7 separate regions of the Homo sapiens genome follow, and regions 1, 2, 3, 5, 6 and 7 are each linked to region 4. Evidence: promoter capture Hi-C in 16 types of primary human blood cells and fetal thymus (Javierre and others, 2016). All regions are on one chromosome and are shown on one strand. The core of a region is centred on a gene start or on the middle of the fragment in contact, and the rest is flanking DNA. Distances in the headings are between cores, read along the strand shown. Region 1 has its middle 51 kb from the start of LPIN2. Region 2 has its middle 4.6 kb from the start of LPIN2. Region 3 has its middle 24 kb from the start of SMCHD1. Region 4 holds the start of EMILIN2 (elastin microfibril interfacer 2). Region 5 overlaps MYOM1 (myomesin 1). Region 6 overlaps NDC80 (NDC80 kinetochore complex component). Region 7 overlaps SMCHD1 (structural maintenance of chromosomes flexible hinge domain containing 1).

What was found. Contacts are between HindIII fragments. The CHiCAGO score rates a contact against its expected background, and 5 or more counts as called.
Region 1: a contact is called between a fragment that was not itself captured here and the fragment with the promoter of EMILIN2 in region 4, in 1 of 17 cell types (monocytes). The highest score is 5.0, in monocytes.
Region 2: a contact is called between a fragment that was not itself captured here and the fragment with the promoter of EMILIN2 in region 4, in 1 of 17 cell types (monocytes). The highest score is 5.9, in monocytes.
Region 3: a contact is called between a fragment that was not itself captured here and the fragment with the promoter of EMILIN2 in region 4, in 1 of 17 cell types (monocytes). The highest score is 8.1, in monocytes.
Region 5: a fragment that was not itself captured here is called in contact with the fragment with the promoter of EMILIN2 in region 4 in 1 of 17 cell types (activated CD4 T cells); the score reaches 5.7 in activated CD4 T cells.
Region 6: a fragment that was not itself captured here is called in contact with the fragment with the promoter of EMILIN2 in region 4 in 1 of 17 cell types (monocytes); the score reaches 6.7 in monocytes.
Region 7: a contact is called between a fragment that was not itself captured here and the fragment with the promoter of EMILIN2 in region 4, in 3 of 17 cell types (monocytes, M1 macrophages and M2 macrophages). The highest score is 12.3, in monocytes.

What each region holds. Positions count from the first base shown.
Region 1 is chr18:3,062,508-3,066,140 of GRCh38, forward strand. No RefSeq gene overlaps it. Among named protein-coding and RNA genes, the nearest start is that of LPIN2, 51 kb to the left of the region's middle. The HindIII fragment of the contact is 809 bases long and covers 1,062-1,870 here.
Region 2 is chr18:3,016,094-3,019,394 of GRCh38, forward strand. No RefSeq gene overlaps it. Among named protein-coding and RNA genes, the nearest start is that of LPIN2, 4.6 kb to the left of the region's middle. The HindIII fragment of the contact is 3,648 bases long and covers 1-3,186 here.
Region 3 is chr18:2,629,726-2,633,519 of GRCh38, forward strand. No RefSeq gene overlaps it. Among named protein-coding and RNA genes, the nearest start is that of SMCHD1, 24 kb to the right of the region's middle. The HindIII fragment of the contact is 9,719 bases long and covers 1-3,794 here.
Region 4 is chr18:2,845,658-2,849,242 of GRCh38, forward strand. It overlaps EMILIN2 (elastin microfibril interfacer 2), which reads left to right and starts at 1,349. Exons shown (of 8, transcript NM_032048.3): 1 at 1,349-1,665; 2 at 2,152-2,274. The coding sequence starts at 1,532. RefSeq lists silencers at 1,567-1,616, 2,237-2,326. The HindIII fragment of the contact is 11,570 bases long and covers 305-3,585 here.
Region 5 is chr18:3,096,248-3,099,986 of GRCh38, forward strand. The region is part of intron 25 of MYOM1 (myomesin 1); the gene reads right to left. Among named protein-coding and RNA genes, the nearest start is that of LPIN2, 85 kb to the left of the region's middle. The HindIII fragment of the contact is 5,489 bases long and covers 1-3,739 here.
Region 6 is chr18:2,601,089-2,604,925 of GRCh38, forward strand. NDC80 (NDC80 kinetochore complex component) reads left to right here. Exons shown (of 17, transcript NM_006101.3): 13 at 308-397. Among named protein-coding and RNA genes, the nearest start is that of NDC80, 31 kb to the left of the region's middle. The HindIII fragment of the contact is 745 bases long and covers 1,126-1,870 here.
Region 7 is chr18:2,664,499-2,667,887 of GRCh38, forward strand. It overlaps SMCHD1 (structural maintenance of chromosomes flexible hinge domain containing 1), which reads left to right. Exons shown (of 48, transcript NM_015295.3): 2 at 1,659-1,734; 3 at 2,372-2,533. Among named protein-coding and RNA genes, the nearest start is that of SMCHD1, 10 kb to the left of the region's middle. The HindIII fragment of the contact is 611 bases long and covers 1,300-1,910 here.

The sequences.
Region 1 (3,633 bases), core at 216-2,715, 220 kb after region 4:
TTATCTCTAAAGCCCAAGGTAGAGGTCAAAATGCAAATATTTGAGGCTGTGATGTGATGGTCACTATGTATCCAGTTTGTAATCCTCCATATAACTGATGTATTAGTATTTTATCTAAACATCTTGCTGTGGGTATGTGAAGCAGGCCCACAGAACAGAACTAATGAACACCTGAGACCGTGCCAGTGTGTTCATTTAAAATGCGCTGCACCTTGTTCTGACACTCGATTTGTTGTAGATATTTGATCCTCTTGAGGCTTGCTTTTAAGCTCTGTTAGGGTGGGGCCAGAGGAGTTTTTAATCCAGGATTAATTTCTCACCTTAGTAGTGCCCCACTATGGAGGAGAAACTTCTGAGGACTCTACCCGAGGCCCACGTATTACAAAGTCTTTTCATTCCGGCTGGTGGACACGGACTCTGTTTCCAGCCCGCGTGAGCTCCAAGAATTGCTTGGCCTGAGGCTTTCCAGATTTCTTTCTCCCGTGCATTTGCTGAATAGTACTCAGCCAAAGAGCATGTGCAGCCTCCAGCACCCTGTCTTCGTGCAACTCTCCTCTCTCTCTTATTCTTTCTCATACATTTTAGACGACCCCGCCTCATTGAACCTCAGTCTCTGTCCCCTCAATTCAATGAGACTGACAGGCTCCCCCTGCTGGGCTGCAGCCTGAGCACTCTGTCTAGGCAAGAAGAAGCTGGAGCAATCACAGGTGTCTCATCACTTTCCCCTTCTCTCAGGCATCTTGGGCCTGCACATCTGCTGGCCAATGCCCTAAACGGTTATTTTTCCATATGTTTTGATATTTTGCCTGTTTTTCTAGTTGTTCATGGTGGGAGGACAATTTCCATAACAGTAATCCTTTGTGGGCAGACAGAGAATCCCGTCTAGCGTAGTTTTGCATTTGCTTCCCTGAGGCCCCGGACCTCGACCATTTTTATGGGAATTCTTGGCTTGAGATTGTTACCATGTGGTGCTGTAAATTTGCACCCCACAAACATGCAGTACTAGTTTGAGGAATCCATTAAATTTTCTTCCATCCAGAACCGCCCCCAGGCAGATGGAAAGCTTCTGTATAGCTTCTCTATGTCAGTTGGTGATATTTTTACTATTCCCATTTTTGTTTTGACTAAGCCACTCTTTGTGCATCTCAGATTTGTGCAGGCATCTTGGGTACCAACTCACTACCTTGAACAATCCAGGTCTACATCTCTCATTCTGGCATGTGTATTAAAACTCCAGTCCCAGATCTTAGAGGCTATATCTAGGCAAAAATTAGTATTTCTGCATTATGTAGGCTGTGCATATTTGATTTTCATGTACTTGAAATGTCTTAGCCTAGTGACTAAGTCCAATTTTTTTTTTTTTTTTTTGACAGAGTATCACTCTGTCTTCCAGGCTGGAGTGCAGTGGTGCAATCACAGCTCACTGCAGCCTTGACCTCCCAGGCTCAAGCGATCCTCCTGCTTCAGCCTCCCGAGTAGCTGGAACTACAGGCTCGTGCCACCACCCCCAGCTAATTTTGGATTTTTTGTAGAGATGGGCTTTCACCATGTTCTCCAGGCTAGTCTCAAACTCCTGGGCTCGAGTGATCCTCCTGCCTGGGCTTCCCAAAGTGCTGGGATTACAGGTGTAAGCCACTGCACCCAGCCTCCAGCTTTGTGATTCCAATGTAAAATGTTTAATTGACTGTGATTTTATGTTCATCTTACTAGGTTTATATACAATATGAGAATATTTATGAAAACTCCAAATTTTCTGTATTTATATACTTAGTTTAGTAGATAAAGTTATTTAAGTTCTTGAGACAGTTTTGTTTAAGTCAGACAATAGTAGTCCTTAAAGTGGAGAGAAAATATATTAATTTATAAATAAAGCTTAACAAATTAAAGGGAATTAAGTTATGCTATAAAAAGCAGCCTTAAACTTAATGTTCTTCAATAGTCAGATTTTTAAATGGAAAAATAATGTTTTAAAGTTGAACTTCAAGAATTTAGGAAGATCTAGGTTTTAAAATGTGTCACTTGACTATTATATATATATATATATATTAATTTTTTTATTTTTTTAATTTTTTTGTGATGGAGTTTCGCTCTTGTTGCCCAGGCTGGAGTGCAATGGTGAGATCTCGGCTCGCCACAACCTCCGCCTCCTGGGTTCAAGCAATTCTCCTGCCTCAGCCTCCTGAGTAGCTGGGATTACAGGCATGTGCCACCACGCCCGGCTAGTTTTGTATTTTTAGTAGAGATGGAGTTTCTCCATGCTGGCCAGGCTGGTCTCAAACTCCCGACCTCAGGTGATCCGCCCGCCTCGGCCTCCCGAAGTGCTGGGATTACAGGCGTGAGCCACTGCACCCCAGCCTATATATTAATTTTATAAAACTGAAGTAAACTCTGAATGGTCTTTTCTGTGTTCCAAGTTGATCCTTTAAGTACCACTACTTCACATTTACCAGGTCACAGATTCATAAATTTTTATGTGTTACAAAGTATCTTCGGCACCATTAAAGTGATGGATCTATAGTTTCAGTTCTATTTTCCCCTGTAGAAATAGCAGCTTTTTACCTAAGCTATTAAATCTTGAGGTCACTGGTTTAGTTTGGTCATAATAATGGCTGAAATAATTCTTATAGCTGTTTTGTTGAGCAATCTCAGCGTATGGAGCTCCGAACACAAAAGCCATCTCCCCAACTCACTGCTGCTGTGTCCCAGCAAACCCCTCTGCTGGGCGCAGGGGTCTTAGGGCACACTTTGATTTCATACATTTTTGCACAATTTCAGAATTTGGAATACACTGTTTTAAAATTTTGTTTCCACCTGATTCAACACCCGTCTTGCTTTCTCCCCAGTCTGGGATCCAGCAGGTGGAAATTAGGGAAGGGGTGGGAGGTGCTGCTTGCAGAAACCTCACCTCTCTGACACTGGGAGCTCTGTTGCTGGCTTTTTGAGGGGTGTGGTGGGGGCTTTTCGGAGAGTCTTAGGGGCCTCTCGCTTGCACAGCCCTTGGCCCTTGGCATGGGAGGTCTGCCGCCGCTTGAACCTTTCCCACCCCCACCCCCACCCCGCCACCCTCCCATCTTTAGCTCCCCAGCAGGTGTCCACCCACTGGCAGTTTCCTTCCGGGTCAGCTTGTTCAGATGTAGCCCTCTTACTGAGGCAGGCAGAACCGCAGACTGCTCATGGCCAGCCACCTTCCATGGGGTCCGCTTGACCCTTGGGAAGCTCATCTCCTTGCCATATCTGGGAGTGAGAACACAGCATCTGGCTCCTGCCTGGTGTTCAGTGTCATAGCAGCAGCATCCAGCACTTGTTTGGACAAGTGGATTGGCCACAGTCAGATGAGAAGCAATTTCCAGCCTTAAACTTGTAAAGGAGAGGGTGTGTAGGAGCCCCTGCCAACTGTATAAGGAAATTTCTTGTCTCATCCGCTACCTTTGGCAGGAGAAAGAAGGGGAAAAAATTGTTTTTATGAGATGGTCTTGTTCTGTTGCCCAGGCTGGAGTGCAGTGGCGCCATCATGGCTCATTGCAGGCTTGACCTCCCAGGCTCAAATGATCCTCCCACCTCAGCTTCCCAAGTAGCTGTGACTATAGGTGGGCACCACCACACCCAGCTGATTTTTAAAATTTGTTGTAGAGA
Region 2 (3,301 bases), core at 113-2,612, 170 kb after region 4:
CTCATTTCCCTCTACTCCCATGCTGTTTCCATCACTCCTCCTCATTATTCCTCCTCATGATTCCTACTCTTGGTCCTCTGTCGCACCACTCACCCCTGCTTGTGATTAGGCCCTCGCCATTTCTCTTGTGGTCCATTGTAGGAATATGCCAGCTGGTCTCCCTACCCTCTAGTCCTGCCCAATTCTAAGCATCCTCTACTCTGAATTGCAGACCTGGCCATGGCACAGGTGGTTGGCAACCCATTGTCTTGACGAAGCAAGCCAAGTTCCCTAGCGTGGCATCCAGTGTGCTCCTTTTCTCTCTAATTTTCTCTCCTGCTCCTTCTAGTCTGTATGCTTCAGCCATTCCATCATCCCTTTTGCAACAGGATTTTTTTTTTTTTTTTGGAGACAGGGTCTCACTCTGTTGTTCAGGCCAAAGTGAAGTGGTGTGATCACGGTTCACTGCAACCTCAAACTCCTGGGCTCAATCGAGCCTCCCACCTTAGCCACCCAAAGTACTGGAATTACAGGCTTGAGCCACAGTAGCTGGTAAGAATAATTTTTCATATATTAACTTCTGTGTTTTTCCTTAGAGTTCTCTCTTTCTTCTTCTCCTTATAAGAATGCACCCAGGCATTCTGCTTGTCTCAGGAGGTTGTTGGCAGAGTGGAAAGCAGAAGTTGTCTGCAAGACATTTCCTTCCTGTCTTTTATTTCCAAAACACTATGCTCAGTGAGGAACCTGTCTCAGTCAAGGGGGAGAGGGCCAGGGAGAAGGCATATCTTTGAGGGAATCTGGAAAGCAGAGAAGGATTTTCTCTAGAATAAGAATCAAGTATCCCCGACCTGGAGTTGGAAGGAGGTGGTCCTATGCCCTCCTGTCTGGCAGCTCCCAGGGGAGGTGATTCAACCTTAGAAAAATAGCTTTGTTATTCCCAGCTTCTGCATCTCTTTCTCTGTGAGGACAGAGAATAGCTAGCATTTTCTGTACCATCACTGTGTGCCCAGCTCTTCTAGTAATTCAACTTCTATCATTAACACCAGTTTACAGAGGAAGGAACTACGGCACAGAGATGTTGGGTAACTTGCCTCAGATCTCACAACTCGTCAGCAGTGTTGATAGAATTTGCCTCCAGCCCTCCTTGACTCCTAAACCCATATTTTTTTCTTCTCTTTCTAAAAAAGTTATTATTTAGCCATCAAATGAATGAACCAAAACTATTTTTTTTAATTTATTTTTAGTAGAGATGGGGTTTTGCCATGTTGCCCAGGCTGGTCTCGAAATACTGGCCTCAAATGATCCGCCCACCTCAGCCTCCCAAAGTGCTGGGATTACAGGCATGAGCCACCAGGCCCAGCATAAACCTGTATTTTTAACTACCTCCCACCACCTTCCCTCAATTGCCCTACTGCCCTACCCCAGTCGATGTATTTTTTCTTATGCCTCTAGTCCACCTTGCACAGATCACAATTATAGTACTTATTATACACATAGTAGGTGCTGAGTAAATACGTGATGAAAAATAAGTGAAGATTTCTATTTCATCTGATAGGCTCAGCTGGGTGTCTAGACCAACTTTCCCTCACTGAAAACAAAAACAAAAATACTGGGCAAAATAATAAAAATATATTCTGGAAGGCATCTATAAACTGGCAAGAAATTAAGAAATTGCCCCAGGACAGGGTGAAGGTCAGAACCCAGAGAGGTAAGCCGAGCCCAAAGTCAGCATATGCCTGGAGGATTTTTGCTGAATCTAGTGAGTTTGAACGTTGATTTTTGAAGCCTTGGGAGTTTTGTGCAGCAGAAGTAAAGGTTAGCATGTACTTTAAGTAGGGAGATTAATAGAAGACCCAATAAATACAGAATTGCAAAAGCAAAATAGTAGAATAAGAAAAAAAATTACTTCTCAAGCCGACCCAGAAACCTCACTAAAGCTGGTAACATATGAACATATAAAACACATATAGGCCGGGTGCAGTGGCTCACACCTGTAATCCCAGCACTTTGGGAGGCCGAGACAGGCCGATCACTTGAGGTCAGGAGTTCGAGGCTAGCCTGGCCAACATGGTGAAACCCGTCTCTACTAAAAACACAAAAATTAGCCAGGTGTGGTGGCGCACAACTGTAGTCCCAGCTACTCAGGAGGCTGAGGTAGGAGAATCACTTGAACCCAAGACACAGAGGCAGTGAGCCAAGATGGGGCCACTGCACTCCAGCCTGAGCAACAGAGCTAGACTTCATCTCAAAAACTAAATAAATAAATAAATAAAATAAATAAAGCAAGTCTTAACAAATCTGAAAATTTTGAATGCATTGGCCAGACGCAGTGGCTCACAACTGTAATCCCAGCACTTCAGGAAACCAAATCAGGAAGATAGCTTGAGCTTGGGAGGATTGCTTGAGCTCAGGAGTTTGAGACCAGCCTGAGCAACATAGAGAGACCTCATCTCTACTAAAAATGTAATAAATTAGCTGGCTGTGGTAGCGTGTGCCTGTAGTCCCAGCTACTCGGGAAGATGAGGTGGGAGGATTGATTGAGCCTAAGAGGTCAAGGTCGCAGTGAGCCCAGATTGTACCACTGCACTCCAGCCTGGGCAATAGAGCACGACCCTGTCTCAAGAAGAATGAAAGAGAGAGAGAAAAGAAAGAAAGGAAAATGTTTATCATACAGACTATATCCTCTGAACACAATGCAATTAAGACAAGAATCGGCCGGGCCCAGTGGCTCACGCCTGTAATCCCAGCACTTTGGGAGGCCGAGGCGGGCAGATCACGAGGTCAGGAGATCGAGACTATCCTGGCTAACACGGTGAAATCTCGTCTCTACTAAAAATACCAAAAAAAAAAAAAATTAGCCGGGCATGGTGGCAGGCGCCTGTAGTCCCGCTACTTGGGAGGCTGAGGCAGAAGAATGGTGTGAACCCAGGAGGCAGAGCTTGCAGTGAGCCGAGATTGCGCCACTGCACTTCAGCCTGGGCAACAGAGCGAGACTCCGTCTTAAAAAAAAAAAAAAAAAAAAGACAAGAATCAATTTTTTTAAGAAGTAACTAGAAAAACCTATTTGTTTGGAAATTCATGAGCCAATGAACAGCACTATGGGAATGTGACAACATTTAAATGCTATATATCAAATATTTGATACTATGTATGAAAATATGAGGGATAAAACTGAGCAAGTTGTTAAGGGGAAACTTATAGACTAAAAGCTTATATTACAAGAGAAAATTGTTTGAAATGTAAAGAGCTAAAAAGTTAAAAAAGAACAGGAAATTAAAGTCATATAGAAGAAAGGAAATAATAAAGATAAAATTTTAAAAAT
Region 3 (3,794 bases), core at 1,261-3,760, 210 kb before region 4:
AACACATGGGAGTGGGCACAAAGTGTGAAGAATTTTGTATCACATGTTAACACCCACCAGAAAACATCTACAATGGAAGAGGCACTGACAAAAGCACTCAGCAGTTGACATGGATAGAACTGGTGTGACAGGCACGTGGGTGGAATGGCCATGCTACCAGAGATGGAAGCCATGTGTAGGCCCTGTAGCAAGAACTTCCACGCACAAAAACTGATCTAGTTACTGCTACTTGTAAATGTCCATATTCCCCAGCAGTAGGGACCAACACTGAGCCCCAGATACAGCACTGTCCTTTGAGGAAACCAACTGGCTATTTGGTGGCAGGTTGACTCATGAGGCCTCTTCCACTCTTGAAGGACCAGCACTTCATCCTCACAAGGATGGATTACTATTCTGAGTAAGGGTTTGCCTTTTCTGCCTGTAGAGCCCCAACCCTCACCATTACCTGGGGTTCATGGAATGCCTGGTCCACAAACATGGAATTCCATACACATAGCATTTGATTAGTGAAGGAAATACAGGAGTGAACCTATGACCATGGGATCCACTGGTCACATCATGTACTTGCCTTCTAGAATGTTGGAACAGACATCCAAAGGTGCAACTGAAATGCCATCTTCCAGGAAACTCTCTGAAGGAATCATTCCATAGGCTGCAACACGTGTATTAAATCAGAGACTCTTTATGGAGCTGTGTCCCCAGTAGGAAGGATATGTGGGAATGGGAACTGAGGAGTAGAACCAAAGTGGCTCCATTAGCATCACTCTGAATGACCCACTGGGGAATTTGTGCTTCCCATCCCCAAACATTGCCTTTTTTTGGCCAGGCGTGGTGGCTCACACCTGTAATCCCAGCACTTTGGGGGGCCGAGGTGGGAGAATCGTTTGAGCCCAGGAGTTCAAGACCAACCTGGGCAACATAGTGATATCCTGTCTCTACAAAAAATTTAAAAAAAATTATCACACCTGTAATCCCAGCACTTTGGGAGGCCAAGGCAGGTGGATCACAAGGTCAGGAGATCAAGACCATCCTGGCCAACATGGTGAAACCCCGTCTCTACTAACATTACAAAAATTAGCTGGGCATGGTGACGTGCACCTGTAGTCCCAGCTATTCGGGAGGCTGAGGCAGGAGAATCGCTTGAATCCGGGAGGCAGAGGTTGCAGTGAGCCGAGATCGTGCCTCTGCACTCCAGCCTGGCGACAGAGCAAGACTCCGTCTCAAAATTAATTAATTAATTAATTAAATTTAAATAAAATAAATAAGTAAAAATTAGCCAGGTATGACAGTACATGCCTGAGGTCTCATCTACTCCAGAGGATGAGGTAGGAGGATCGCTCGAGCCCAGGAGATTGAGGCTTTGAGGCTGCAGTGAGCCATGATCACACCACTGCACTCCGGCCTGGGTGACAGAGCGAGACCCTGTCTCAAAAAAAAAAAAAATTGTTTTAACTTAACACTTCTGTCTTTCTGTTCTCTATCTTACTAAATGTTTGCTTTTTTCTTTACTAACCCACTCCTTCTGCTTTGCTTCCATTTATTTTGTTGTTTTTCCCCCTAAATTTTGATTACATTCTTAATTCTTTTAAAAAAATAAGTATTTAAACCTATGAATTTTCCTCTGGTTTCTACTTTAGTAGCATATCACATTTTTTATGTGCTGTGTATTCATTTTCTACAGTTTCAGTTAGTGGTTTCTCTCTGCTGTAAGAACTGTTTAAAATAGTTTTGAATTTCCACATAGAAGGAATTCCCACCCCACACAACCCCCAAACTTTATGAATTCCTAGTTGTATTGCATTGTAATCACAGAATGCTGTCTTCACTATTCTGCTTGGACCTTGCTGAGGTTTTTCTTTATGGCCTAATAGTTTTAGTGAGTGTTCGTGGGCAATGGAAAGGAAAGCATATTCAGATTTCAGGATGTATACATTGGCATGTTATCAACCAGATCTATCTTATCAATTACTAAGTTCTTCTGTGATTTATTTATTTTTTATCTACTTGATCACTGACAGTCTGAGAAACAGAAAGGTTAAATATATCTACCCAGTTCTTCTAGCAAATGGCAAACTTCTCTAGTAAATGGCAAAATCCAAATTCAGGCAATCTGACTTCAGTTCTTAACTACTATACCATGCTGGCTTTCATCGGTATTTGTTAGATTTTTCTTCATATGTTGTCACTTGGGGTCAAACCATTCAGGAGAAAGGCAGATCTCCCAGGGAAACAACTTGAAATCAATAAAAAGGATTGTGAGGACATAGGAGTTAGCAAGATACTCAGGAAGTCAGTGATATGGTTTGGCTGTGTCCGCACTCAAGTCTCAACTTGAATTTTCTCTCCCAGAATTCCCACGTGTTGTGGAAGGGACCCAGGGGGAGGTTAATTGAATCATGGGGGCAGGTCTTTCCCGTGCTATTCTCCTGATAGTTAATAAGTCTCACAAGATCTGATGGGTTTATCAGGGGTTTCTGCTTTTGCTTCTTCCTCGTTTTCTCTTGCCACCACCATGTAAGAAGTGCCTTTCACCTCCCACCATGATCCTGAGGCCTCCCCAGCCATGTGGAACTGTAAGTCCAATTAAACCTCTTTTTCTTCCCAGTCTCGGATATGTCTTTATCAGCAGCATGAAAATGGACTAATACAGTAAATTGGTACCAATAGAGTGGGGCAGTGCTGAAAAGATACCCCAAAATGTGGAAGCAACTTTGGAACTGGGTAACAGACAGAAGTTGGAACCATTTGGAGGGCTCAGAAGAAGACAGAAAAATGTGGGAAAGTTTGGAACCTCCTAGAGACTTGTTGAATAGCTTTGATAAAAATGCCGATAGCGATATGGACAATAAGGTCCAGGCTGAGGTGGTCTCAGGTGGAGATGAGGAACTTGTTGGGAACTGGAGTGAAGGTGACTCTTGTTATGTTCTAGCAAAGAGACTGGCAGCATTTTGCCCCTGCCCTAGAGATTTGTGGAACTTTGAACTTAAGAAAGATGATTTATGATATCTGGCAGAAGAAATTTCTAAGCAGCAAAGCATTCAAGAGGTGACTTGAGTTCTGTTAAAGGCATTAAGTTTTATAAGGGAAGCAGAGCATAAAAGTTTGGAAAATTTGCAGCCTGACTATGCAATAGAAAAGAAAAACCCATTTTCTGGGGAAAAATGCAAGCCGGCTGCAGAAATTTGCGTAAGTAGTAAGGAGCCTAATGTTAATCCCTAAGACCATGGGGAAAATGTCTCCAGGCCATGTCAGAGAACTTCACGGCAGCCTCCCCCATCGTAGGCCCAGAGGCCCAAGAGGAAAAAGTGGTTTCGTGGGCTGGGTCCAGGGCCCACCTGCAGTGTGCAGTCTAGGGACTTGGTGCCCTGTTCCCAGCCACTCCAGCCATGGCTGAAAGGGGCCAACGTACAGCTTGGGCTGTGGCTTCAGAGGGTGGAAGTCCCACACCTTGGCAGCTTCTGCGTGGTGTTGAGCCTGCAGGTACACAGAAGTCAGGAATTGAGGTTTGGGAATCTCTGCCTAGATTATAGAAGATGTATGGAAACACCTGGATACCCAGGCATAGCATAGCCATAGCAAAGGCAGAAGTTTGCTACAGGGGTGGGGCCCTCATGGAGAACCTCTGCTAGGGCAATGCAGAAGGGAAATGTGGTGTCGGAGCCCCCACACAGAGTCCCTACTGAGGAACTGCCTAGTGGAGCTGTGAGAAGAGGGCCACCATCCTCCAGACCCCAGAATGGTAGATCCACCGACAGCTTGCACCATGCACCTGGAAAAGCTGCAGACACTCAACA
Region 4 (3,585 bases), core at 99-2,598:
TTGCGACAGATTTTCACTCTTTTTGCCCAGGCTGGAGTGCAGTGGTGAGATCCCGGCTCACTGCAACCTCCATCTCTCTGGTTCAAGCGATTCTCCTGCCTCAGCCTCCCAAGTAGCTGGGATTACAGGCATGTGCCACCGTGCCCGGCAAATTTTTTTTTTTTTTTTGTACTTTTAGTAGAGACGGGGTTTCTCCATGTTGGTCAGGCTGGTCTTGAACTCCCGACGTCAGGTGATCCACCCGCCTCGACCTCCCAAAGTGCTGGGATTACAGGCGTGAGCCACCCCGCCTGGCCCATAGCAAAGCTTTATTCACTTAACGAGTCATGGCCAACAGCGTCTGGTTAGCTCACAGAGGCCACAGTTTTATCTGTGGAGTCTGGTAACCACGCCACTCACGACCCTGTACATTGATTAGATGCAGCAGGTCATCTCAAACACACAGCTCTCTCCAACACCCCTTAGAATACAACACTTGGGTGGTGATTTTACTTAACATTCTGGTACTTCATCCCAAAAAGACATCGGTAGAGATTAGTGTAACTCAACAACAGGCAGAAAACATACAAGAAAGTTTAAGACGGATGTCTAGCAGTGCCTGAACTGTTAAGAAGCAAACGTGAGTAAATGCCTTAGTTTCAATAGAAAAAGAAAGTTCACAGTGGGACCTCAGAAGCAGAGGCTGTGAGATCACCTTTCAAGAATTGGAGGAGAATTGCAGTAAGTGATAGAGCCGGACGCTGAGCTGCAGCAGCCTCTGGGAATTGGCGGGGCTGTGGCTTGTCCTGTCCTGCCGCCCCCCGCGTGGCCTCGGAAACTGTCAGATGGTGCCTAAGGCAGAGTTGGGCAAAGAAAGAACCAGCGTTCGTTTCCTCCTGGACTCTCTAGGTCCATGGAGCTGGTGGGGGAACGGCCCTGTCTTGCCCGAGGAGGAAATTCGAGTCGAGCCCCCACTCCTCTCCCCGCGGGACTGATAAACATGTCCCTCATTCGCCCCGGGAGGCTGGCACCCAGGCACGACGCGAGGACGGCCAGACTCGCCGACGGCGGCCGCGTCCCGGGGGGCCGGGAGCGAGCCTGTCGGAAGGTGGGAGGCGGAGTCGCTCGGCATCTGGGAAGAGACCAAAGGAATGAGTCATTGGAAATGCTGTAACGTAGACCCTTATCCCAAACCCTTTCGCCCCTCCACCCCGAGCCCCCTGCCGAGAAGCGAAGGGACTGGAGACGGGGAGACTTGGTGGGGGGAGAGTCACGTTTCGGAGAGGGAAGTGAAATAAAGAGGGCGGCACCCGGGGGGACCTGTGCGTCATTGAGGGACCGGGGAGAAGCGCAGGGCGCACGGGGCTGCAGAAGGAGAAGTAGGAACGAGAAGCCGGAGGGGGCGGCCGCGGAGCACTGGTTGGAGCGCCGCGAAGCGCCCGAGCCTCTTGCCTTCGCGGGCGGCGCCCTGGCCGCCGGCAGCCTTGTGGCCGGTGCCCCGATCCGCCGCGCTCCGGACCCGGGCAGGCGGGGCGCGCCCGCTGCGCGCGGGATGTGGCAGCCCAGACGGCCCTGGCCCCGCGTGCCCTGGCGCTGGGCGCTGGCGCTGCTGGCCCTGGTTGGCGCGGGGCTGTGCCACGCCGGCCCGCAGCCCGGGTATCCCGCGCGGCCCAGCGCCAGGAACAAGTAAGTGCGCGCCCCTTGGCTGGCCCCAAACCGCCTACCCCTCCCCGGCCCCCAGTTGAGCCCCAGAGCTGCCCTGCCAAAGACGACGAGCGGCAGCCGGGGGCCTCCCTTGGACTTCCCCGGGCGGCTCCCTCTGCGGGGGACCGCGCGCTCCGCAGCCGGCGCCTCAGGCAGAGCTGACTCCGGGGGCGTGGGCGCAGAGAGCGTCCCGCAGACCCGGGCGATCCGAAAACGACTCCCAGGAATTCCATGAGCCCCTGGGACCATGGGTGCTTTTCTTTCCCGTCTTGGTCGGGTCCAGGCGCGCGCTCTCCAGAGGCGCACCCGGGCACCCTCCGGCGTCTGCTCGGTGAAGCTCCCGCCTCCGCAGAGGGCGACGGGCCCCCCCGACCCTCGCTCGGTCTGGTGCCGCAGTCCCCTCTCCCCTGGCCTCATTGTTCTCCGGGTTTACCCCGTGCCCCTCTCCCTCTCTCTCCTGCACCCCAGGAACTGGTGCGCCTACATCGTGAACAAGAATGTGAGCTGCTCCGTGCTGGAGGGAAGTGAGAGTTTTATTCAGGCTCAGTACAACTGTGCCTGGAACCAGATGCCCTGTCCGTCGGCGCTGGTGTAAGTCCTGGAGCCGGGGAGCGGGCGGGGCGCGCCCGGGCCGGGGCGGTGGGGGTGGGGTGGGGTTGCTGCGCTGGGCTCCAGTCCCTCCGGTAAATCCCTTCCAGATCCGGTGAAAAGCCCGCAGCGGAAAAGCGCTCCGAGCGCTCGCGGGGCACCGGCCACGCTGGGCTATTTAGGGAGTGGGTGCTGCCCGAGTGAGTGGGGAGGATGCGCGCGCCTCGGGAGTGTGGGGTCGCGGGGGCGTAGGAGAGGATGAACAAAGCTCCCACTCCCACTTCTGTTTTCTCCCTTTCAATGTTTGTTTGTAACATAAGGCAGCTGAATCTAATTGGATCCATATTGTGTGTTCTGGGGCACACAGAAGATTCCAAAATGTATACTGCTAAAGACTATTCCGTATAGGATTCGCTGAGAGGTTTGGCTAAGTAGTGTTCTAAAACGAGTGAGTTCTGTCCGTATGTCCCCATAAAACGGAATCTTCCAGTTTTGTAGATGTCTAAGCTAAAACCTCAGGAACACTTTGCTTAAAAGTGTGGCTCCCCAGCATCCCTCCCCGCAACTTAGATTTGGAGATTCTCTAGAGATTGTGGGAGAGAATGGCCGTTAAAGACAGGGGGAAGAATTAATCATCTTTTTGCTTATAAAGATTTCCCCATCTTAAAAAAAAAAAAAAACAGGAAGCAATGCAATAAAGTACAAATGCCGTTAAATACATGACACTCATTCAATTGTCATCAGGCAAGTCTTTGGGGGTTTTGTATCAGTCTGATACCGGAAGATGGGCCAGTGTGAATAAATGGCTGTTGAGGAACACATGTGATGGCTGAAATTAATTGTTTTCCACTAAGAATAAGTTGTTTGTCTTAGAGCACAGTTGTCATTACAGCAGAGAATAGTCAGTAGGCGGATCTGTCTTTGGCAAAACCAAGGGACAGACTGGAACTTGTACTCCAGGAAACCTTATTCCAGAGAACAGTAGATGAGCCTGTAGTCTTATGGGAAGTGGTCGCTGGGTCCACCCCACGTGGGCTTCTGGAGGAGCTGCCAACAGGGTTCAGCTAATTCCTGCTCGGCAAAAACAAAGTAAAACAAACAGAAACTTAGACGAGGTCCCCATTTCCTAATATACAGTGGAAAACGCTGAAATTGAATGCCCAGCTAGGCTATCTCTTTGAGTTGGATACATTGTCAGAGAGATAAGGTACTGTCATCCAACCTTAATCTCTTAGTAAGATTGAGACCTCATCGTCTATGGCCAGCAGTCAACGACATCAGAACCAAGCAAGGTTTTTACACTGTGGGAGTGAT
Region 5 (3,739 bases), core at 1,106-3,605, 250 kb after region 4:
CTCTGGGCCTCATGTTCTTCCCCTCTAAAATCAAATCGCCACAATACCAACCCTTTTAAGGTCATTGTGGAATTCAAATAATATATACTGCTTAAATACTCTATAAAGAGCCTGGCATATAATAAATGCTCTATTAATGTTGGCTGTTAATATTTTGTTATCTCTCTCCTCCTCTAGTTGCTTCTACAACACCCTAGAAACACCATTTTTTTTTTTTTTGAGATGGAGTCTCACTCTGTCACCTAGGCAATGGCATGATCTCGGCTCACTGCAACCTCCACCTCCCAGGTTCAAGAGATTCTTGTACCTTAGCCTCCAGAGTAGCTGGGATTACAGGCGAGAGCCACCACACCTGGTTAAATTTTACAACCACTAATTTTAGAATATAATATGTTGACACCTAAGAGGACACACCAACATATCTGTATTTATGTATACGTGCTTGTGCTTGCCTCCCCACATATAGTGCATGTATACAAGAGGGGTAAAAACCGGTGTCTGCAAATGAAGGGCTATTATGCAGCATGCTGATAATACCAAAGTGTACCCTCCACCCACCCCCTCAAAATACCTTGAATTCTTGGTGTATGGATATATATTCAAATAAGCTATCTTTCCACACTGCAATTTAGTATCAATACTGGCAAGATAGACTAAGTCGATTTCTATTTTTAGCTTTGTGCATTTCTATTTTTTCTATTTACTCAGCTCCAAATTTCCTTAGGCTCTTTTCTCTGGCAGTTAATGTGCCTCAGCGAAATATGTTATTTGTAGGTTTAAGGCACGTGTTTAGTGGTTTTCAAAATAATTTTGAAAACAGCTTAAAATAGGAGAATTTACTGTGCCAAAGGATAAAGGAATACTATACTCTTTATTACATTCTCTAAGAAATAAGACAGTTTAAAACTTTACAAAATCTCAAGAAAACGACTTCATCAACATGCCAGCATTTACCAACAGGAAGTGGGTATGAATCAAGAAATTGCATGTGCTACTTTGATCCTACCACCAGACCTCTGAAGATATTCACCTTGTGACCTCATTGGTCTGATAGTGGTAGGGGAAAGAAAAGAGCTGGAGTTTTAGTATTGAAAAATGTTGCTTCCTTGGGTTAACCAAAACACCCTTGGGTTGGGGGCTCTGATACTTGCATGTCAGAGTTTGTTATTTTGTGATTTTTATACTCATTTTTTTGTGACAGATTCTCACTCTGTCACCCAGGCTGAAGTGCAGTGGCATGATCACGGCTCACTGCAGCCTCCAACTGCTGGGCTCAAGTGATCCTCCCGCCTCAGTCTCTCGAGGAGCTGCGGCCACACCTGGCTAATTTTTGTATTTTTGTAGAGATAGGGTTTCACCATGTTGACCAGGCTGGTCTTGAACTCCTGGGCTCAAGTGATCCTCCCGCCTTGGCTTTCCTAAGTGCTGGGATTACAGGCATGAGCCACCTTGCCCAGCCGAATGTCAGAGTTTTAATCACATTCTCAGGGTCTCTCTACCAAAATGCGACACTGGGTCTCTAATAAAAGGATAACTGAGTTTGCTGCTACCCTCTCTCGTAGCACCAATAATCAGAGTTCTTGGGCTTATGCAAGATAAAATATCTCAGCATAAATGATAATGACATCAGGCAATGCCTACTGCCCGGACTAATTCTCTCTCCAAGTCCATATGAACACTAAACTCCAGGGAGGCCTGGGCATCTTGAGCTCAAAAGTGACACCCCATCTTCTCTCATCTCCAACCTTTAAGCTGAATGTAAATGTTGTTTGGACTAGTTGTTGTCTAGACACTTAATCAATGTTTATTATCTGACTAGATTAGTAGGTGCTGCTGTTTCTCCCCATTTCTGTCAATGTTCGAGAGTAGAAAGTACAACCATCTTATGTAGCTTGGAGACTTCTGCGTTGGGCAGCAGGTTCAGGGATCACTGGTCTGTTTCAATTAATGTTCATATTTTTCCTGAATAGTTCATGGATTCATCAATACCATATTTATTATCTCTTACAGCATTTATTTTATTTTATTTTTATTTATTTTTATTTTTTGAGATGGAGTCTTGCTCTGTCACCCAGGCTGGAGTGCAGTGGCACGATCTCGGCTCACTGCAACCTTCGCCTCCCGGGTTCAAGCAATTATCCTGCTTCAGCCTCCTGAGTAGCTGGGATTACAGGCGCCCACCACCACACCCAGCTAATTTTTTGTATTTTTAGTAGAGATGGGGTTTCACTATGTTGGTCAGGCTGGTCTTGAACTCCTGACCTCATGATCCACCCACCTTGGCCTCCCAAGGTGCTGGGATTACAGGTGTGAGCCACCACACCCCACCCTCTTACAGCATTTCTATATGGGAGGTGCTATAAACCACTGTGATAGCCATTCCTGGAAAAGAAACCAAGGCACAGAGAAATAAAAGTGAGCTGCCCAGGCGCACAGCTTGAGTCAAAAGTCCAGAACAAAGAGAGTCCAGTCCAAACACTTTGCAATACACTTTAGTACTTTCCATAAACTTTTTCAAAATTAACATTTGAAACCTCACTCATGATATTACTTTTCCAGTTTTATGGTGAATAAGCATACAGATGAGAAATGGCTTGCCTAATGCCACATGGTGGCATAGAGGGTTCTTCCCTAGAATTTAGAAGTCTGCGCCCTACAGTCGTGTCTCATGGGCCCTCCACTCTGCTACTTTGCTGAACAAAGTTGGGTTAGTTTTTGTTTTTAGAGATACGGACTCGCTCTGTTGCCCAGGGTGGAGTGCAGTAGCGTGATCATGGCTCACTGCAGCCTTGAACTCCTGGCCTCAAGTGATCCTCTCGCTCCGGCCTCCCAAAGTGCTGGGAGTACAGGTGTGAACCGCTGTGCCCAGCCAAAGTTGGTTTTGAGAACATTACAGCTGAGGCCAATATCACCAGCACTCAGCCTCACTATCAAACAAGTCACTCCTTGCAGATGTAAGAGAAGGTCCGCAATTCATTCTAGAGCAGTGGTGTGTGTTTTTAAATTACAGTCTCCATTGGGGAATTTACTAAAAGTGAAGGATACTCTTCCTAGAAAAATGCACATATATCAATATACAAAGGCTGTTTGTCCATAGTCTGGAATAGGAATATAGTTTTCTGGGTTCCTGAAACTCCTTTATTAGTGGAGGATTTATATTTTAAGTATTAAAATTTCTGATTTAAAAAGAATGGGTGTATACTATCACTTTCTACTTGTTTTCTCAAACTCCAGGGTGCAACTTTCTGGATGCTTCACTACCTTGGCCAGTGGGTACTAATGGCAAGAGATCCCCCCATCTGGCCAGTGGAACCTTCCAAGGGTCATTTCTGACTTCCTTCTCTTCTCTTAGTGTCAAGTGTGGAATTTAATCTTTTATGTAGAAGGTGCTTTATTGAAGGGTTGTACATTGTTCAGAGGGATTCTTTTTCTGACGAAGGCATGTTTGCCCAATTTTCCAGGAGTTGAAAATGGTAGGCACTGTCTTTATATTGTCTTTATTTAGAGGTATGATTCTGCTTTTAAGTGCCAATCTTACTTAGGAAAAGATTAGTTTGCATAAAGACATATAAGTGAATATATCCAGAAAATATATATGTGATTCCAACATATGTGGGCAAAAAGTGAAGAACTTAATTACTCAGATGTTACACCTGTGTAGCCTGACACTTCGCCATGTAATGGAGCATGGGATATATTTTCTATGTTAGTATCCTTGGTATCTCTGGAGAACAACCGC
Region 6 (3,837 bases), core at 248-2,747, 240 kb before region 4:
AAAAAAATACTGCAGTAAACTAAGTGTACTTGTAAAATGTTTAAATAATAGCAATGAATTTCCAGGATAGATGAGCAAATCTTGAATTTTGCAAGTATTCAAAACCAAAAGCAGGTTATAGTCTACACTTACAGAAATTTGATTAAAAACTAGTTTTGTTTCTGTTTGACAGTATATTAGATTTAAAATGTTATAACTTCAGTTTTTCTCCAAAAGTGACTCCTCCTATCACAGTGTGTAGATGCTTCAGGAGGGATATTTTGTAATTAAATGTTATATGTCACCCACATTCCTATGTATTTTATAGGTACCTCTTAAGGAACTCCTGAATGAAACTGAAGAAGAAATTAATAAAGCCCTAAATAAAAAAATGGGTTTGGAGGATACTTTAGAACAAGTAAGTAATAAAACATAAAAAGTCATAAAAAGTGAAAATTAGATTTTAAAACCTAAAATTAAAAGTTATTTATGGTTTCTGATTGCTAAGGAATTAATTTTTTAACAAAACTATGAAAAAATGAGAATTGGGTATGCTCTCGACAGAAATATTTGAAGTAACTTATTAAGACATTTAAACATCCTAGCCTTCACACATCACATATGATGAAGCGAGATGAAACTAAGTAAATTTTCCTTTTTTTAATAGAGAAGTGTCTCTAACTTGAGATAATTTAATATTTTTATACTAAAAGAGGCTTCAAGTGGCTACCTTGAAAGTAGGCAAGTATAATTACGGCGTTAGAAGCTAATTAGCTGTGATAGATTAAGAGGTTTCTTTTTACCAAGTTTTTGGATTCTGGATCATGGAATTTCAGGAGAACTCAAATTCCTTTCAAAGTCTATTTCCAAAAGTGAATTTCAGGTAGTCTCTGCTTCTGAGATCCTTAATATCACCTATATCCCTGAAAAGGAAAATTCTATTATTGTATTTAGTAACCTTTAAAGTAAACATTGTTAGTTAAGAAAAGTTAAGCTACTTCTCAAATGCACACACAAAGGATTTCATTTATAGGACACCAAGCAGTTAAAGGAAACCCCTTGTTAATTCAGCTCTTCAGGAACTACTGTGATCTGGCTAATAGATTTCAAGATATAAAATGAAATTTTATGTTTTCTCAGAAGAGAAGCTTGTTTATTTTTTCTCAATCTGGAAACAAAACCTATGGCATTTCACAAATAATTATGCTAGTAACCCACAGAAAGACATTTTTCCAATATTAATAAATTCTATCAAGACTTACTTTGTATTAGAATTTTTACATTCTCAGAAAAATAGAAAAATTTGTAACATTAGATAAGTGAAGAGTTTGATCACATCATACTATTATTGCTGTAATTCGCAGTTTCTAAAATATCTATGGAGAAAAGATGAGGAATTTGCTCCCTGGGACTGCTCCCTGGGAATGATGATTATTTGCAGTGAAGTCTTCCTTTAGCCTGCTTCATTTTGATTTCTGTTTTTTGCTGTAATGGGTACTAAAACCTGGAGATTCTCAAAAGGTATGAATTCCAAACAACAGGAACTTCATATCTAAAACATCTTTTAGACTGTCTTGAACTTTTTAAAGGCTATAGATGGGGGAAAGTTATAAAATGGCTACTATAGACTAGGACCCATGTTAGTGTCCTAGAGATAAATACATCCTTCAGGCACTCCCATATAGAGAAAAAGGCTGACATAGGTACAGTTATGCTCATCAGATTTTTAGGTTTACAAAACCCTTTGGGCTACAGGAAAACATGGCTTAGAGGGGATGCAACTGAAAATGTTAGGAGACTTAAACCAATGTATACTAGAACTAGAGGGAAGGAAACAGGTTTAGGAAATGTTAAGGAGGTAGAACCCAAGGATTTCATGGCTGCATGTGCAAGCTTGAGGAGAAAGAAGTATCAACATGACTTCCATATTTTTGATGTGGGCAACTGAGTGAATCATAGTGCTATTAACCTAAAGGAGGAAAACTTAAAGTAGGGTGTGGTGAGATGTTGAGCTTGCTGTCTGTAGGATATCCAGGAGGAAGCAGAAGCTATAGATTCAGAGTGTAAGAAGGAGATCAGGGCTGAAAATACAGATTTGATGGTCATTAGAGCATATGTAATAGTTGAAGCCATATATGTGGATGAATGTGGAGGGGAAAGTGGCAGAGGATTGAATCCTAAAGAGTAACAACATTTAAGGGACCGGCAAAGGAAGGAGATTCTGGGAAAAACTCTTAGAAAAAGTGGACAAAATTAGTTGGAGAACAACAGAAGAGAATATGTTTATACATATATATATATATATATATATACACCTATGTAATATATATAAGCCAAAGTAGGGAAAACTTTTCAAGAAGGGAGAGATCAGTAATGTCATACAGAGACTAACAACTAAAATTGTTTTTCCTATTGGACAAGTAGTTTAAGTTAAGATGGGATGGGGTAAAATGCAACTGGAAATAATAAAGTTTATAAAGAAATTAATAAATTAGAGTAACAAAACATTTAACCTGAAAAGTATTTTAAAATAATTGCCAAAACCATTTAAGAAAAAGCAGGAAAATATAAAATGAGAAATAGTTTATAGAGATGGTGGAAATTTATTTGAATTATGAAGTAATATAGTATAAACAGAAATTTATGTTTAAAATTTTTTGATGAAATGGATTGTAACCTGAACAATAGAAATCCCAAAAAAGTCAAAATATGTAAGTAACCAGAAACCAAAGTGAAAAAGAGAATTTGCTCTTCAAAAGACTCCAATAACGGATAATTTCATAGGTCACTGTTTTCAAATACTGAAGACTGGATGATTTCTGTGACATGTAAATTATCATAGAGCATAAAGAGACCTAATTCATTTATAAGGCTAATGTAGGCCTCATACCACAACATGACAAAGATATTACAAAAAGAAGAAATTAAGCTAATCACACTTATGAATATGAATGTAAATAAAGGTTAAAGTTAAATATTTGAAACTGAAATTTATGCAGCAAATATTTTTTGAGTGCTTATGTGCCTAGTACTGTAATAGATGGTGATACTAGTACAGTGCAGCATCTGCCTTTGTGAACTTCATTTTAAGTGGGAAGATGGGCATGAAAACAATTTCTTCTATCATAGCTTTTTGTAATGTGAATACAGCGCACTGTGGATTCTCATAATACACTTAAGTACAGGCTCCTTCTGAGAGAAGTGATAGCTGGGCTGAGTTGTGAATAACAAGTAGGTGTTGGCCAATGGATACACAGAAGGATGCTCATGTTCATCCACATGCATGCACACACACATACACCTTGAGGACCAGAGACCAAGGAGTACAGCATGGACCGGGCATAGTGGCTCACGCCTGTAATCCTAGCACTTTGGGAGGCCAAGGCGGGTGGATGGCTTGAGCTCAGGAGTTCAGGACCAGCCAGGCAACATGGCAAAACCCAGCCACTACCAAAAATATAAAAATTAGCTGGATGTAGTGGCATGCACCTGTAGTCCCAGCTACTCTGGAGGCTGAGGTGGGAGATTGCTTGAGCCCTGGAGGTGGAGGCTGCAGTGAGCTGAGATTGTGCCACTGCACTCCAGCCTAGGTGACAAAGTGAGACCCTTTCTCCAAAAAGAAAAAACAAAGAGCACAGCATATTAGTAAATTACCATGAGTGTAAGTGAGATAAGGGAGAAGCCTGGAGAGACAAGAACCTAATTATGAAGGGGCTTGCCTTACTGGTTGAATTTTTTTGTATTCTTTAGGCAGTAGAGATCAATGAAGATTTATAAGTAAGGAAATAACAATAATTATTGTTATTTTAGTAATTTCACACTGTTGGCCTTTTGAAGAATAGATGAGAGGTGCATGAG
Region 7 (3,389 bases), core at 355-2,854, 180 kb before region 4:
GTGCTCTTTTTTGGTGTTACTTAATTTGTTTTATCTCCGTATGTATTCTGTAAACTAAAAGTTAGCTTTAAAGGCTTGATTTGATTTAGGTTCAACTTCTTTGGGGTCAGGAGGCAAAGAATGCTTTGTAGGTAGTACTGATACTTCATATGGCATTACACTGGGAGGCACGTGATGTGTGGGTGTTTCACCCACTCATAGCAATGCTAACATTAAAATCTTGGGATTCACGTGATTTCAGCAGGATTCCTCCATAAGGAAGTTTTGATCTGACTTGCCATTCCTCCTGTGTTTATTAGCTGGAATTCTTTAAGGAACAACTTTGCCTCATCAGCCAGAGCTATTTTGGTTATCCTGAAGTACCATTGATACAAGAAAAGCAGTGTAAATAATTTGTTCTTTCCCTTTAATTTGTCAGTGTTCAGAGTGACAAGTTGGTGCCCTAGCTCATCCCAGTGGTGAGCAATAATGGTTTTTATTAATATCATTTTTGAAGATTTGAGTATCACTAGTCTAGATTTTTTAGATGTTTTCAATAAGAATGTTAATCTTTAGACTAGTCCATTACTACCCGAAACAGAAGCCTTTTCTCTTAACTATATATTGCTGTATTGTTTCATTTTAGACAGAGCATGTATGTTTTAATTCTAATGTAAATGAAAATGTTAACCACTTTTCTAATTCTCATTTTTTGATTAATGTGATTTTACAGTTCATGTGTTCATTGGTCATTTGTATTTTCTCCTTTTCATTTTTTTGTGTTTTTACTTTTTCTCTTTGTTGATCCTTGTCACCCTTTTGTTTCTTGTTGCAATTTCCCTCTAATTTTTTTTTTTCTTTGAGACGGAGTCTCATTCTGTTGCTCAGGCTGGAGTGCAGTGGTGTGATCTTGGCTCACTGCAACCTCCGCCTCCCCAGTTCAAGTGATTCTCCTGCCTTGGCCTCCTGAGTAGCTGGGATTACAGGTGTGCGCCACCACACCTGGCTAATTTTTGTATTTTTAGTAGAGACAGGGTTTCACCATGTTGGTCGGGCTGGTCTTGAACTCCTGACCTTGTGATCCGACGGCCTCAGCCTCCCAAAGTGCTGGGATGACAGGCATGAGCTACCATGCCTGGCCAGTTTCCCTCTAATTTATAATTTGCTTTAATTTTTAAAGTTATTCGTTTGAATGGACCTGTATGTCTTACAAAGCATGGCTGTTCTTCCCTCCGTGCTATAAAATGCTAACTTCTGTTTTCTTCTATTTTGTTTTTGCATACTTAAATATCTAGTCTATATGAACATGAGTTATGTTAAAGCTTTGTTCCAAATAAGTTGATAACTTGTACGTTAGTATGAAATACTATGTCTTTTGTCTGGGTGGGTCCTGCTGATGATGTTAAAATGCTTTTAAAACGTTCCACCTAATCACTAGTGTTCCTAGGTTGCTTATAGTAGCAGAAAAAATGACCTTGTTAAGTAAGTAATTTATATAGATTTATGCACTATTAATTATGCAAAGGCAAAATTTAGATATACTGAGTTTTGTATTTCCTAGATAAGTGTAGTGGTTACAGAATTATAATGTACTATCAATATTTTCATATTTTTATAAATTTGAATAATACATTTATTTCCTTTGTGTAATAAGTGATTTTATTTCTTATTTTGGATAGACACTTGGCATTTCACCTGAAGAAAAATTTGTTATTACAACAACAAGTAGGAAAGAAATTACCTGTGATAATTTTGGTAGGTAAACAGTGTTACTAAGTTGATGCTTTTATATTTAATAAGGTTTAGTACATATATAGCAATAACTTTTATTAGATATGCATCTAAATCTGTTGATGACTTTTGTTAATTTGTTGGGATGAGGGAGGAAACTGGCTGCATGTGCATAGTCTGCACAGAGGTTATATTTTTCAAGCTTGATTATAGAAAAATAGTTGATATCAGTTATGGCTACAGAAGATGATTCTGCCTAGCACAAATCTTCTGAAGCTAATTTTGCTAACCAACTTGGATTATTCCATTATCTTTTTTTAACCTAATTAGTTTTCCAAGACCTGCTGGTTTTTCATGCCTGATTCCATCTGAATTTAACCATTCTCCATTCATGTTGACACTACGCTATTTTAGATTCTCGTCTGATTTCCTGTGATAGTTTAACTTATTAAGAATTGAGTGTTTCAAATGAATGGAAGGAAGTATTTGTGCTTGTTTCATTAATATCCTTAACATGACTTTGCTTACAGGTAGATGATTGGGGGTTTTTCTTTACCATCATTAAAGATATTTCATAGATAGAATTTGTATATTCACAATTATAAGTTCATTGAGTTTCTGATGCTGACCTAGCACTTATGATTTTCACTCTTGATTACAGATGAAACTGTTAAAGATGGAGTCACCTTATACCTGCTACAGTCGGTCAATCAGTTACTACTGACAGCTACGAAAGAACGAATTGACTTCTTACCTCACTATGACACACTGGTTAAAAGTGGCATGTATGAATATTATGCCAGTGAAGGACAAAATCCTTTGCGTAAGTATCCCATTCATACTAATTTTGATAAATTATTACCTGCCTTTATCCCCTGATTACGTATCCCATTCCTTCACTTTTTGTAAATCTTCTTATTACACTTTATTAGAAGACCACTCATTTTCTTTCTTACTCAAATTCATCACGGTATTATTATGTCTTCTACCTGTGTCATCTTCAGTGAAAAAAAACTCTCCTTTAAAGCTAACCTACTAGTAGAACTTTTCTTTTCAACTCATAAGGGGTCTTGACCTATACAGCTTTCCATCGCCTGTATACTCTCTTCTCCTGATTTCCTAGCCTCCCATAGACCTTTCCCAATTAAGAAAATACTTGTTTTACTTTGCAAATACATATAGCTAGGTTGCGTAAGTAAGAAGTTTGTGTTCATATTTCCATGTCTTTATCATTTCTTTCTACCTTTACTACTTGCTAGTTTCTGTCCTTTCTCTGGACCATTTGCTAGTGATCTTTACAAATCAATTAGTTTACTGAATCCTCTCTTTCAGGACTTGCCAAAGTGTCTAATACTACTTACATGTTCATCGTAAACTTTTGTATTAAAATTATTTTTTTCTCATTATATGTGTATTTGCAGGAAATTAGAAAACATAGATAAGCAAATAGAACATAAAGAATATCTCTACTACCCAGACATAACCACCACTAACACTTTGGTGTTTATCATTTCAGACCTTTTCATATTATTTGATTTTTAATGGTTTTATATGGTGCATACTTCTTTAACCTACATTTTGTTTAAAAATAAAGTGAACATCTTTTAATATATATGTCTCTGTATATTTTGATAATATTTAGGTAATATAATTTATTTGAACAGTATTCTTTTTCTTTT